Linked DNA regions of Homo sapiens: regions 2, 3, 4 and 5 are each linked to region 1. Evidence: promoter capture Hi-C in 16 types of primary human blood cells and fetal thymus (Javierre and others, 2016). All regions are on one chromosome and are shown on one strand. Each heading gives the region's core, a stretch centred on a gene start or on the middle of the fragment in contact. The rest is flanking DNA. Distances are from core to core; before and after follow the strand shown.

What was found. Contacts are between HindIII fragments. The CHiCAGO score rates a contact against its expected background, and 5 or more counts as called.
Region 2: a contact is called between a fragment that was not itself captured here and the fragment with the promoter of NRIR in region 1, in 2 of 17 cell types (activated CD4 T cells and erythroblasts). The highest score is 6.1, in activated CD4 T cells.
Region 3: a fragment that was not itself captured here is called in contact with the fragment with the promoter of NRIR in region 1 in 6 of 17 cell types (activated CD4 T cells, non-activated CD4 T cells, naive CD8 T cells and 3 more); the score reaches 12.8 in activated CD4 T cells.
Region 4: a fragment that was not itself captured here is called in contact with the fragment with the promoter of NRIR in region 1 in 2 of 17 cell types (non-activated CD4 T cells and activated CD4 T cells); the score reaches 7.5 in non-activated CD4 T cells.
Region 5: a contact is called between a fragment that was not itself captured here and the fragment with the promoter of NRIR in region 1, in 1 of 17 cell types (activated CD4 T cells). The highest score is 5.8, in activated CD4 T cells.

The regions. Positions count from the first base shown.
Region 1 is chr2:6,839,031-6,841,838 of GRCh38, forward strand. NRIR (negative regulator of interferon response) reads right to left here and starts at 1,434. Exons shown (of 4, transcript NR_126359.1): 1 at 1,261-1,434. It also overlaps a transcript of CMPK2 not described here. The HindIII fragment of the contact is 12,024 bases long and covers 1-2,808 here.
Region 2 is chr2:7,070,816-7,073,623 of GRCh38, forward strand. All of the region lies in intron 2 of LOC101929452 (a long non-coding RNA gene), which reads right to left. It also overlaps a transcript of RNF144A not described here. Among named protein-coding and RNA genes, the nearest start is that of GRASLND, 150 kb to the left of the region's middle. The HindIII fragment of the contact is 4,886 bases long and covers 1-2,808 here.
Region 3 is chr2:7,049,345-7,052,152 of GRCh38, forward strand. It overlaps a transcript of RNF144A not described here. Among named protein-coding and RNA genes, the nearest start is that of GRASLND, 130 kb to the left of the region's middle. The HindIII fragment of the contact is 7,501 bases long and covers 1-2,808 here.
Region 4 is chr2:7,019,506-7,022,313 of GRCh38, forward strand. It overlaps RNF144A (ring finger protein 144A), which reads left to right. Exons shown (of 9, transcript NM_014746.6): 6 at 968-1,175. Among named protein-coding and RNA genes, the nearest start is that of GRASLND, 100 kb to the left of the region's middle. The HindIII fragment of the contact is 1,465 bases long and covers 629-2,093 here.
Region 5 is chr2:7,001,094-7,003,901 of GRCh38, forward strand. All of the region lies in intron 3 of RNF144A (ring finger protein 144A), which reads left to right. Among named protein-coding and RNA genes, the nearest start is that of GRASLND, 84 kb to the left of the region's middle. The HindIII fragment of the contact is 940 bases long and covers 994-1,933 here.

The DNA of each region.
Region 1 (2,808 bases), core at 184-2,683:
ACCATTGCCACTATAGTGCATGTTCCTCTCCAGCGCCTGGGGAGGAATAAGCATAGCCTGGAGCCACAGAGAAAGTAAAGCCCTGTTCCCTGAAGGGATGGTTCTATGTTGTGATTTATGAGGGTTCCAGCTAAGTTTAGTCCAGGCCTTATAAGGTTGCCTTCCCTACATCTAATTCAAGCATCTTTAGAATAAGGATATCCATACTTAGTATAGTCATCCACAGTATTGTTTGGAACTTTACATGCTGGGAGGGAAGAATCTGTTTGGCAAATATAGTTTTGAAAGATCAGAGACGCAATATGTTCCAGCCAGTATCTTAGACAACCCTCCTTACAGCGGCTATTGGCCCAGACATCCCCTGTTCATTCACAAATCTGCAGATCACTGTCATTATCAAATATCATACAAGGGTCCAGGATTCCATGTGTGGGCATGTTTGGGAAGGACCATGTGCTATTTATTACCTGATAATAAGGTTGGCGAGGGGTGGCATTTCTGCCCGGGGTAGACATTCCCATTGGGAACTCCACCTGGGAGGTCTGGCTAGATTGTTAAAATTTTTCCACAGTCTCTCCCAATGTTTGGTGTCACCCTTGTTCCTTCTTAGTCTCCAGATCTCTGTGCTCTCAGCAATTACAAGCATACTGTTGCAATTATTTAAGGTTTCCCGAGTATGGTCCTTTTCCTTTACTCTTAAAGCAGAGACAGGCATTGGCTATCATTCTATCAACTTCACCTAGTCTAAGGGTGTGAGTTTTACCATCAGGAGGTGTGTCTTTCTGGGTGGAGTTAAAAATGCTCCCATACCATGTTCCCTTTATACCTATTAGGTCCTTAATGATTTAAGGTAAAGCCATCAGAGGGAAACCCTAAGATAGTGAGTTCTGAATCATCAAAGAGTCCATTGGTGTTATTAAACTGAGTAAATTGTTCAGGGCAAACCCAGTAATCAGTCTTGTTGTAGAGATCGGTAATATCTGATATTGTAGGAGCCAAAGAATGTGAGGCATTGCTACATCTAACAGTGAATGCTAGTAAACTTGATAGTAACAAAATCTTCATGTTTATCTCTTGCCTGTGACTACTATCCCTGCTATATGAATAATAACTAAGCAAAAGATTATGGCAATTGAGACTCTTTTCCCAATATTCCACTTAGAAGGTGCCACAGTATGCAGTCCTACTGCAAAGAGCAAGGTGAGTACAACAATTCCCATATGTGTGAAGTAATAAAGTTCCACTTTAAATCTTACTCACCGAGATATATAATTTCTTCGTGGGGGTGGTTTATGAGGTTATGAATGGAATCCCATGGATAATCAAAATCTCCCTGTAAGTATGTGACAAAGAGAAGTTCTAATATCTAACAGCAAATCTCAAGAGGAAAGGTAGAAATGACTTTAGTATCTGGTAAGGAAGGGTGGGATTGAACTGAACAGAGAGTTCCCACTCATTTACTTATCTTTTGGATTTTCAGTTTGAAATCCCCAGACTTTTCACACTGATATCTGAGATGTTCTTCTGGGATGTCAGGGGTCATTCCAGGCCTTGACTCGAGTGTGATGAATCCAAGATTCCAGTCCCACAAACTTCACTGCCGAGCAGGTGGAGAGAAGGATGGTATAAGGTTCCTCCCAGCTGGGACCTAGAGAGGGGAAAAGAGAGGAAAAATCCTTCACCAGTACCAAGTCTCCTTGGTAGAACAGAGGTGGCCCTAGTTCTTGGGGTTGGAATTCTGATAACTGTTTTAATTCCTGCTAGAACTGGGCCAGGGAGGTTACATGTTTAACCAATTCAGAAGTTCTCTGATGTAATATAAAATCATTGGTAAGGAAAGGCCGTCCATATACCATTTCAAAAGGGTGAAGGAACACCCCTTCAACCCCAAATTTGAAGGGGTGCTCCTCACCTGCACTAAGGCTATAGGAAGATAAGCAGTTTAGAGGAGGTGAGTTTCTTGAGACCACTTCCTGAGGTGTCTCTTAATGATATCATTTGTTTTCTCCACCTTCCCTGAAGACTGCAGTCTTCAAGCACAATGAAGATGGTATTGTATGCTCAGTGCTTTTGAGACCCCTTGGGTAACAGCTGCCTTAAATGAGGGGCCATTGTCACTTTGGAGGTATTTAGGGAGTCCAAAACGAGGAATTATTTCATTGACTAATGCTTTTATCACCTTAGAGGACTTTCTGTTTGACATAGAAATGCCTCTACCCAGCTAGTGAAGGCATCCACCCACAACAAGAGGTGCTGAATTCCCCTTATCTTTGGAAAATGGGTAAAATCCATTTGCCAGTCCTCCCCTGGGCAGTTTCCCATTCTTTGTGTTGCTGGGGATGGGGAGATGCCATTTGTTGAGGGGATTGTTTTTGAGGCAGATCTTATAAGCATTAACAATTTGTTTGACTGTTTTTGGTAGATATTTACCTGAGAACAACCTCTGGGCTATTTGATGAGTTTTATTCTTTCCCAAGTGAAAAGTTTGGTGAAGGATCTTAAGAACTTTCCACTGACTGGAGACTGACAAATAACATTTGCCATCCTCTGATTGTAACCATCCTGAGGGCTGAAAAGTGTATCCTCGAGAGGTGGCCCATTCTATCTCTGCAGGAGAATACTGAGGCTTTATTTCCCTTATGGAGCCCTCCCAAATTAGACAGCCTTCAAGTGTGCTGGGACTTTGGGGTCTTCTTACTGCTGACTTAGCTGTTTGGTCTGCTAGCCTATTTCCTTCAGCTATTTCATCCATCCCCTTCTGGTGTCCTTTGCAATGTATCATTGCCACTTCCTGCAGAAGGAAAACTG
Region 2 (2,808 bases), core at 144-2,643, 230 kb after region 1:
AGAAAGATTCTGAGCAGTTTCAGGAGTGCTGCCCTGAGGAACACCCTGACCCTGGACTTCCAGCCTCCAGAACTGTGTGCCAATACATTTCTATTGTTTTGAGATTGCTTTGCTGAGTTTTTTTTTTTTTTTTTTTTGAGATGGAGTCTCACTCTGTCACCCAAGTTGGAGTGCAGTGGCATGATCTCAGATCACTACAACCTCCATCTCCCAGGTTCAAGCGATTCTCCTGCCTCAGCCTCCCAAGTAGCTGGGATTACAGGAGCGTGCCACCATGCCAGGCTAATTTTTTGTATTTTTAGTAGAGACAGAGTTTCACCATGTTGGCCAGGCTGGCCTCGAACTCCTGACCTCATGTGCTCCACCCTCCTCGGCCTCCCAAAGTGCAGGGATTACAGGCATGAGCCACCGTGCCTGGCCTTTGCTGTGACTTTTTTACAGAAGCCCTGGGAAACTGACACAGAGCCAGCTGCAGATGTGTGGTTAGGCAGAAACGCAATGGGCAGTGGCTTGGATTTCCCTAGCATGGGAGGCACTGCAGAGTTCCTTATGTGCTTGATGGTCAGGGACAAAGCATGGGCCAGCAGCACGCTCCTTCTTTGGACAAGGTCTTAGGGCAAAAACATTGTAGTCAGACAGTGTAATTTCACATCACAGCCTCACTACTTCCCAGCCGTGTGACTTGGCCTGAGTTATTTACATTTGGCTCAATTTCTCAATTCCAGTTTCATTGCAGCACCTATGTGATCACATTTGTGTGATGATTACAGGTAAATACCATTGTGGGTAAAGTATAAGAAGGAGGCCTGGCATTTACTAATTACAAGATAAATCTCCTCCCTACACTGTGCTTCTTAAGGTTTGGGATGCTGAATGGATTCCCTTCTGGTGATAGTGTTGTATGTCAATGTGGCGAGGCTAGGGTCTCCAGTCACTCAACAAAACAGTCATCTAGGTGTTGCTCTGTAGCTATTTTGTAGATGTGATTTAACATTTACCACCAGTTTGCTTTAAATGAAGAAGACCATCTTTGATATTCTGGGTAGGCTTGGTCCACTTCACTTGAAGGCCTTAAAAGAAGAAAGAGGGGAAGTTCTCCTAAGGAAGAAATTCCTCCTGGAACTCCAGTGTCTGCTCCTACTCGACAGGCTCCAGCCCACCCTAAGGATTTTGGATTTGCCTAGGCAATCCCCCACGTTGCCTAAGCCAGTTCCTACTGACTTTTTTGTCATGTCATTCTGCTCAGTGACAGTAGGAAGTAGGATGATAGTAGCTCGATGCTGCTGTAACAAATGCCTAAAAATGGGGAAGTAGCTTTGGCATTGGGCAATGAGCAGAGGCTGGGTAAATGTTTAGCCACATGCTAGACAAAGCCCAGATTGCCTTGAGCAGAGTGTTGGTAGACTTTGGAAGCTACAGGTGCTACTAGTGAGGGCACAGATGATTTTTGCTATAGAATGGCAGAAGGGTTAGCTCAATCACATCCTTCTGTGTGTGGAAAGTAGAACTTGTAAACAATGGACTCAGATGTTTAACAGAGGAAATTTCAAAGCAAAGTGTGGAAGGTATGGCCTGGTTTCTCTTTGCTGCTTACAGATGAATGGAGGGAAGAACTGTTAAGCAAAGAGAAGCCAGAGCTTGATCAAGAACTGCCTGTCAGGCTTGTAGAATCCCACAGGAACCTCAGGAAATGGATGCACTTCTATAAAAGGCCTCCTTCAATTTTTCTGCCATCTGTCTCTCCTCTTCCTACCCCATTCCATTTTTCAGAGCATATTGTTTTATTTTCTCACTTATCCTGCCACAGAATATTACTGATTTATTTACCTGTCTCGCCCCAGTTAGTGTCTGTTTGAAGGCAATGGCAACGTCTCCATCACTGAGTCTTAGAGCTTAGTGGTGTCAGGTACAAAGCAAACAATAGATATTTGTGGAATGAGTGAATGAATGCATGAACCAACTTTGGGACATGTGCTCATTGATCAGGATTTTGAAGACATTCTAGAAAATCTAGAAAATCAGAAAGACCAGAAAGGCATTTCCTTGACTGGAATCCAAGTGTTTACCTCAAATGGGCTGAGCTGAAGCCAGGGTCATGGGCCAGAATGAACTAGCATCTGATCTGGAATCTGCAGCCTTACACTCCTCATGGCTTCCTGTCCTTCCTGTCCTTGAACTTCACTCTGTCCCATACATACCATGAGACTCCTTGGAACTCTACACCACTTCTCCAGCCTCACCTGTCTATGATCCACCCCATCTACCCTGGCCGTACCGGACAACTTTGAGTTCCCCAAAGAACCCTGTCGCCACTCAGGCCCTTACCTGGCTTGTTTCCTTTCCTAGGGATCCACCCTGTCTCCATCCCTGGGAAGGTCTACTCCTCCTTCAAGACCCAGCTCATGCAGTAGCCCCTGTGGGAAGCCTTTCTCAGTCTCCTCCTCACCCCACGTTTGGCTGTTGGGAAACCACTCCGCTTTGTACTTTCTGATGCAGGATTACAAATGTGTCTATCACTCCCCGGAATTGAGTATTGGCTCTGGAGGGCAGAAATGATGTGATGTTCATATTTGTATGAAGGCCAACATGAGGTCAGAACATGTGATTCATATTCATATTTATCATAGATTTACACATATATGATAATTTTCTGAAAGAGGGCAGTAGAAAGTCCTAAGGAATGGGTAATAAGGAATGAATCATTTTTTAAGTTAACTCAAAGTCACCCCTGGAGATAATGAGGTGTCTTCATGTCTGGCAATCTTAGCCTATGCAAGTGGAGGAACCCGATGCCTGGCCATTGACTGT
Region 3 (2,808 bases), core at 214-2,713, 210 kb after region 1:
GAAGGAGGTGAAATTGGCTGTATATAAATTATTGATCAATGGTAAGGCAATGAATGAGAAATGGCTGATTAGGTAACATCATTCACACTCAGGAGAGAAAACCTCTGGAGATTTTGTTTGCTGATTTCACCTGGCATACAAAATCCTGAAAAACGAGTCTCTTGGAATCCACAAAGGATGAAGATGACAAAAATTCAACTGTGCTCAGCGATTTGAGTTTTCAACGACACGAAAATGAGGTTGCAGTCAGAGTGGATCTTTTTCTCATTTCTGCACAACTCTTAATACATTGTTGGTGCACAATGAATGTTAAATAATAATTTAATGTTTTTATTAATGACAAAGGAGGAATCAACATATTAATGAAACTTGCAGATGATACTAAGCTGGGAGTTATTACAAACACCAATTAGGAGATGAAGACGATGAAGAGGGACCGAGGAAAGAAAGTTCCAACAAAGTGAGCTTCTGTCTTGCAAATACAAGCAAATGCACCTGCAAAAAATGTGTACTGTGGGAAGCTCAGAAGGCGAGGCTAACACAGGCTTAGGAGGGAAAGCAGTCCAAATGCAACGGCTTTTGGAAACGCCAGGGGCAGGATGTGTGATGAAAGTCATAAGAAAAAGCACAATCTCCTCGGCTTTTTCAGTCGAAAATGCATTCGATACCAAGTTTCATTTGGTTGCACGTTGGAAGCTGGTCATGACTTTGAAGGAAGAACTGTTTGCCTTTCCCAGGAGATGAATTCACGAGTGAGTAGGACCTGGTTCCCTGTCCTCAGTTCGGGTCCTGATATGGTTTGGCTGTGTCCCCACCCAAATCTCACTTTGAATTATAACAATCCCCACACGTCCAGGGTGGCGCCAGGTGGAGATAATTGAACCATGGTGGTGGTTTCCCCATATTGTTCTCGTGGTAGTGAATAAGTCTCAGGAGATCTTATGGTTTTATAAATGGGAGTTCCCCTACGCAAGCTCTCTTGCCTGCCGCCAAGTAAGACATGACTTTGCTCCTCCTTCACCTTCTGCCATGATTGTGGGTCCTCCCCAGCCATGTGGAACTGTGAGTCAGTTAAACCTTTTTTCCTTATAAATGCCTCAGCCTTGGGTATGTCTTTATTAGCAGAGTGAGAACAGACTAATGCAGGTCCTCTTCAGTCTCTCGTGGACACACCTGGGGCCTCCTAAAGTATCTTCTGCTCCCAGCCTCCTCCCTTCTCACCATTCTGTTCCTGGGGCATTCTCTGTTTCCATCTTGTGATGCTTCTGTTGAAAACCATTGAGAGCCTTCTGCTTCCTGTGTCGTTAAATCCAAATTCTTCACCGTTGCCTATATTTCAGTAGCATAAATTCTCTCATATACCTTTAAGGGAATGGAGAGCAACAGTCTTTTGAAAGACAAGCAGATTCTTGGCTCCCTCACTGGCCTCCATGGGGAAGACTTAGGACTCTGTATACCAGCATTGGAGGGGAATGTCGAAGGGAACGGGAGCTCCCAAGGGAGGAAGTGCTGGAATCCCAGTGCTGTCAGGACCACTCAGACCCCGTCTATATTTATAAACAAGGAGAAGCTCAGTGAGGCAGAATGCCTCGGGTGCAGTCTTGAAGCTAGTTCCTGGCAGGGCTTGGACTGAAGTTTAGATCCTCCCTTTTCTTCATCAGTGCCTTGGTACCACACCACACAGACCAATGCAAATGCACGGAGACATCACAGTCTAGTGCGGCAGGCCGGAAGGTGATGATCACACTCCACAGGTGGTAGCAGAGAGGAGCTCCACCCCCTGCAGGAGAAGTCAGAGCAAATTTCTGGAGGAGACGGAATTGGGGTCGGGGATGGAGAGAGCAGGGGGTTGCTCAGAGCACAGATTGGGAGGGAATGCCACCACACAAACACACCCATGCAAGTAAAGCCGCAGACGCCCCAAGAGAGCTTGGCAAACCTTCAGTGCAGAGCTGAGCTCCAGTAGGGTGAGGGGATTGGAGGTGGAGCAGGTGGACGGGGTAGAGCGGTAAGGGACAGAGGGGATGCACTTTTTAAGGTTTAAGCCAGGCTGGAGGATTTCAGGTTAAGGTTGGTGCTGACACAATAAGATATGGGATTTGCCTACGCCACGGTAGCTGCATGTAGGGGAGCTTGGATGCAGAGGATGAGGGCCAGGACATGAGGTTAGGAAGCCGCCAAAAGGAGCAGCGAAGAGGAGATGGGGGTCTATGCCCAGCCTGTGGAGTGGAAAGTAACAAGTATCAGTAAAAAGACAGTTGAGGGCAGGCACAGTGGCTCACGCCTGTAATCCCAGCACTTTGGGAGGCCAAGGCGGGTGGATGACCTGAGATCAGGAGTTTGAGACCAGCCTGGCCAACATGGTGAAATGTCATCTCTACTAAAGATACAAAAATTAGCTGGGCATGGCGGTGGGTGCCTGTAATCCCAGCTACTTGGGAGGCTGAGGCAGGAGAATCGCTTGAATCCAAGAGTGTGGCTCCCAGATGAAGATGTTCTGCCCTGGCTGCTCCACTCCGGTCTGGTCTGGCTGCTTCAACCTCATGGGATCTTCCTGAGCTTAGTGCTGACTTCCAAGAGTATCAATGAATCCCCCAGTATTCAGAATAACCCAAGGACACCCTCACCCAGGTATGCCCAATTCTCACTCATATTACTCCTCCCTTAGTCCATCTTAATTAGAATGCCTAATTGGAAGTAACATAAATACCTCCAAAATGCCCTATTGCCTCTGTAGCTGTGCCCTGGAGAGAGGAACTCATAAGTTAACAGTCCGTGGTGTCACTCAGAAAGCAGGTGGTTTATACC
Region 4 (2,808 bases), core at 111-2,610, 180 kb after region 1:
CTACTTCCCAAGAAGAGCCCCGCTGAAAACTTAGAAACCAGTGGCCTACCAGAACGCCTTTGGAAATAGCCCACATTGCACTGGCCTGGGAGAGCTTTCTGGCAGAGCCTTGCTGCTCCCTGGGGTGGCCACTGATCGAGAATTCGGCATCATGCTGGACAAGAGGGAAGATGAAATGAACAACCAGTCTTCCTACAAAGGGCAGCCAATAATTTAAAGAAATGCAATTTTTGGACAAGGATGTGAAGAAATAGATGTGTCAAAGTGTCTTGTTTTTAGAAATAAACTTTGTGGCTAATTCCATTAAATTGGGCTTCTTAGAAATGTGTGCTGTGATTTGGAGAGAAAATCTGGCCCTTGAAGGATTGGTTTCACTCCGTAGTTAACTCGTGGCTTGGATTTGAGAAGGGGAGGCCATCTTAGGCAGGTGAACCATTTGGTTAGAAGAACAATCCAGCCATCTTCCTTCCCTCTTCCTCTCGGTCTTCTAGCAGCATTTTCCTGGTGCTGGCTGTATGCCCAACATGGGGCCATCAGGGGTCCAGCTTCAGAAAACTGTCCCCTAGGGGAGGCAGATGAGCTAGCGCCATGTGCATTGCTCAGAGAAACCCGACAGGCAGGTGGGCCAAGCTTTCCAGGATGTGGAGGCCTTTGAGCTGTGAGCTGAGTGTCAGAGGCAAGCAGGGCTGACCCAGGGCTCCAAGGGCATTCCAGGGGCAGGAGCAGCATTCCTGAGGGATGTCTGGGTGTCTGGAGGTCTGTTGCATGAAGGGAGAAGTTGGGAAGAGCTACAGCGGAGGTGGAGGTGGAAGGGTGGCTTGGGCGGTGCTTCGGTTGGGGCTGGTGGTGCTGGCTGTATTACCTGGACATGTTCCTCCCTGTCCGTGCACTGAGGGGCTCCTTCCTCTGAAGCCCACATGACCCTCTGGCTTAAGTTTGATTTGTCCATTTTGTCTCACTGTACCAGAGGTGCTGTTTGATCCCTGTCGGACTTGGTGCCCGGCGTCCACCTGCCAAGCTGTGTGTCAGCTCCAGGACGTGGGGCTGCAGACCCCCCAGCCAGTGCAGTGCAAAGCCTGCCGTATGGAATTCTGCTCCACCTGCAAAGCCAGCTGGCACCCTGGCCAGGGCTGCCCGGAGACCATGCCGATCACCTTCCTCCCCGGGGAGACCAGGTACCCTTTGTACACAAGCTGCCACCAAAGGCATGGCTGTGGGCCAGGAGAAGCAGGCATGCTTTCTTCCTAAAAGTGCTGTTACAGTGTAAGTGGCTGTGGCTCAGTCAACCCTAACACACACTGTACCTCTTGAGCCTCACTCAAGCCTGTCATTATTTGTATGTCTATTTATTTTTGAGAACTGACTATGTACCAGGCACTGTGTGAGGCCCTGGAAATAGAAAGGTGTGTGAGAACCACACTTAACACGGCTTGGCTGGAATGACAAATGCATGCGTGGTTTGTTACTTTTAAAGGTTGCAAGTCCTGCAGTACCTGAAGTTTCTGCAAGACTTCACTGTGTTGAAGGTGATCTGAAATGGGGGTACAGAAACAAGAACAGGAGTAGGGTGCACTGGTCATAAATACTGTCTGGAGGGGGATGGGGAGACACTCCCTGGTGGCGGCCTCCCCTGCAGCCATAGTCGGGCTGTTTGCCCAGGAGAATGCTGCCGCACCACGCTCTGTACTTTGACATTTCGTAGGTTGATGCATAGGAAATTCATCATATCCAGGTCTTTTTCTCCTACAAAATCTACAAGGTCACGTGGTTCTGCTGGACACTTGCCCCTGCTCCTGTTGAGTCCAGGATCCTCATAGAGGAGCTGCCACTCTACCCACCACCCTCCCCAGGGTGTGCTCACCAGCTGCTCCCTGTGCGCCCCTTTTCCCATTCCACCGTCCCCAGCTCCTGTTCCTTTCCGTGTGACCCCTGTGCCCTGTTCTAGCCCCCGACCCTCTCAGGGTCCCTGCCACACACCCCTGGTCTCCTTCCGGGCGAACCTCTCTTCCCGTGTCTGGAGTGCCCTGCTCTGCCCTCCTCCTTTCCCTGGGGGCTCCTGCCACACTTCAGGTGGGGATCACATCCCTTTGTCAAGCTTCATGGTTCCGAGGACAGGGTTGGGGCCTCCACCCTCTGTGTTCCCCCTGAGATTCTCTGCATTGATTACAACCCTGGACATATTGGATTTGAGTTCTTGCGTTGACAAGGCCGATTCTGCCATCAGGATGAGCTCCTGACACACAGGGCCTGGGCCTTTCTGAGCAGCCTGCATCAGGCAGGCAGCTGCAAGCACGAACCACTTGTACTTATACTTCACGTGTACTTGGCATCTTAGGGGCTTCAAAACTTTAGATGGAGGCTGGTGAGTGTTTGGAGCCTGATGACTTAGTTTTCTTTATCTGTGACATTCTAGTCTCATTTAAATTATTGTCCAAAGATGATCTAAATCAAAATTCAGAAATCTCATTTTGTGGAAATTTTTAAATCAGAAGATGTCACATAAAAACTGGAATTTCTGGCTTCTCTGGGAAATCCGAATCCTAAGCCTCTCCGAGGCTGCCTCCCCATGCTGGCAGCCAGCGTAGCAGAGCCCCAGCTCTTGCTGGAGGCGCCTCCTGGGCCAAAGCCCCACAGTCCTCACTACTCCTTGTCCCCTGGAACTGAGGCTGCCTGTCAGCTGCCATTTATAACTGAGAAGACACTAAGCTATTTTTTGTATTGGAGGGTTTGTTGTTGTTGTTGTTTTTGGTTAAATCTTCTCCTCAACCATGTTTTTATCCAGCCCCTGACCACTTCACTCATTAGCAT
Region 5 (2,808 bases), core at 214-2,713, 160 kb after region 1:
GTTCGAGACCAGCCTGGCCAACATGTTGAAACCCCGTCTCTACTAAAAATACAAAAAGTATCTGGGCGTGGTGGCGTGTGCCTGTAATCCCAGCTACTCAGGAGGCTGAGGCAGGAGAATCACTTGAACCCGGGAGGTGGAGGTTGCAGTGAGCTGAGATCGCGCCATTGCACTCCAGCCTGGGCAACAAAAGTGAAACTCCATCTCAATAAATAAATAAACAAACAAAAGTGAAACTCCATCTCAATAAATAAAATAAAATAAAATTAAAATAAATAAAAAAATAAAAGTGTAACTTTTTGCCCAGGCACAGTGTCTCCTGCCTGTAATCCCAGCATTTTGGGAGGCCGAGGTGGGAGGACTGTTTGAGCTCAGGAGTTTGAGACAATCCTGGGCAACATAGTGAGACCTTGTCTCTACAAAAAATAAAAAAATTAGCTGGGCGTGGTGACAGACACCTGTGGCCCCAGCTACTCAGGAAGCTGAAGCAGGAAGACTGCTTGAGCCCAGGAGGTCGAGGCCGCAGTGAGCCATGATTACACCACTGCACTCCAGCCTGGGCAGCAGAGCAAGACCCTGTCTCAGAAACAAAACAAAACAAAAACGTAACATTTAATAGACAGAATCTTTCCCGTGCAATGCATAACTATAATAAAAGTGACTCTTAGTGGTTTAAATAAAAAGTCAGAACTAGATGGTTGGTTGAGTTGCGTGGCTGAACATTGCTGTGGGATATAGGTTCAGATCTCTGTTCTGCCTCTGCTACCTGCTAACTGTGTGATTTTTAGCAAGCATCCTAACTTCTCTGAGCCTTAGTTTATTCATCTCTAAAATATGATCAACCTCATGAACAAATTAAATGGGGCAATGGGTATAAAGTATTGAGCAGTAGCATGCCTGGTGATAAGTAATACGATATTATTTCCTTTTTTTCCTATATATTTGCAAGATCATTGACCTGGTATGCTGCAGAAAAGCTACGTGTAAACCCTAAGCTTCTGATTGTGTAACATATTAGGAAATAAGTGGCATTTCCTCACCTAGAAATTAAGCTGATTTGGGGCATGGTCTTCCTTTGCACGTCTTTATGTCCCTTTGCATTATGTGTACTGCACATAGTGGGTGCTTTTTTGTGCACATAGCGGATATTTATTTAATTTTTCAAACATTTTTGAACACCTGGCTTGTGCCAGATGCCCTGGGTACGTAGGTAAGACATAATCCCTGCCCCCTCTGATCCCTTGCTCAGCATTAGATGCAGGTGTGGGCTGCGATCATTTGGGGCTTGAAGGGCTAGATTTGCAGTGTGGATAGTGGGTTACAGCACAGAGAGAACAGTGAATTCTGCCAGAAGTACTCAGGAAGGCTTCAGGGGCATTTGAACTATTTCCTTGAGAAAGCATGAACGGATAGAGCCACCATGGTGGGACCAGCGAAGGAAAGAGGGTGTTGGGGCATGATGGGTCCAGATTGAGAGGACTTTGCTAAGGTTTCTACTAGTCTAAAGCTCAGCAGAGACATACAGTCATGCGCCTCATCACCATGTTTTGCTAATGATAGACCATATATATAATGGTGATCCCATAAGATTACAGGAGCTGAAAAATGCATTCTGCCTAGTATTTACTATTCTGTACTTTTTTATCGTTATTTTAGAGTGTACTACTACTTATGAAAAAATAAGAGAGGTGTGGAACAGCCTGAGGCAGGTCCTTTAGGAGGCATCAGAAGAAGGCATTGTTGTTAATCTCATATGAGATGACAGCTCCATGGTGTTACTGCCCCTGAAGAACTTCTAGTGGGAGAAGATGTGGAGGTGGAAGCCAGTGACATGGATGATCCTGACCCTGTGTAGGTCTAGGCTAATGTGTTTGTGTCTTAGTTTTTAACAAAAAAAGTTTAAAAAAAATAAAAAAATTTACAAATAGAGTAAAGCTTACAGAATAAGGATATTAAATACATATATACACACACATGTATTTGTACTATGTATATATTTGTACGTATATATACACATATATATATTTGTACAGCTGTGTTCGTATTTTAGGCTAAATGTTATGAGAATAAAAAAGTTGAGAAAATGAAAAAGTTTACAAAGTAAAAAAGTTACAGGAAGCTAAGGTTAACTTATTGAAGAATGGAGTTTTTATCTGAATTGAGTGTAGCTGAAGTATAGAGTGTTTATAAAGTCTGTAGCAGCAGTAATGGCTGGGCCTTCACATTCACTCACCACTCACTCACCCGGAGTAGCTCCCAGTCCTGTGAGCTCTATTCATGGTAAGCGCCCTGTATAAGTATATGATTTTTTACATCTTTTATAGCATATTTTAAACCTCTTCTATGTTTAGAAATTTAGATGTGCAAATACTTAGTATTGTCGTTAATATGCGAAAATACTTGTAATTGCCTACGGTATTCAGTACAGTGGCACAGCACCCTGTACAGGTTTGTAGCCCAGAGCAATAGGCTGTGCCAGCTAGCCTAGGTGTGTAGTAGGCTATGCCACCTAGGTATATGTTACTACATTCTATAATGTTTGCACAGTGACAGAATCCTCTAAGGATACATTGTTCAGAATGTATTCTCTTCTTGGACAACTCATGACTGTAACTGGCAAGGACTAGAGGGCTCCAGACTAGCTGTATGTGAGCAAAGCCTGCGAGAGGGCAGCATGCTTTGCCACCTGCCATGTGGCCACTCTGGGCCTTCCTTGGGTTATCAAGGTTGGGATCTAAAGGGGGCATGCATTTTCTTATGATCCCCACTTTTCTGCACGCTTTGTTTCCATTAGTAGCCATTGTTTGG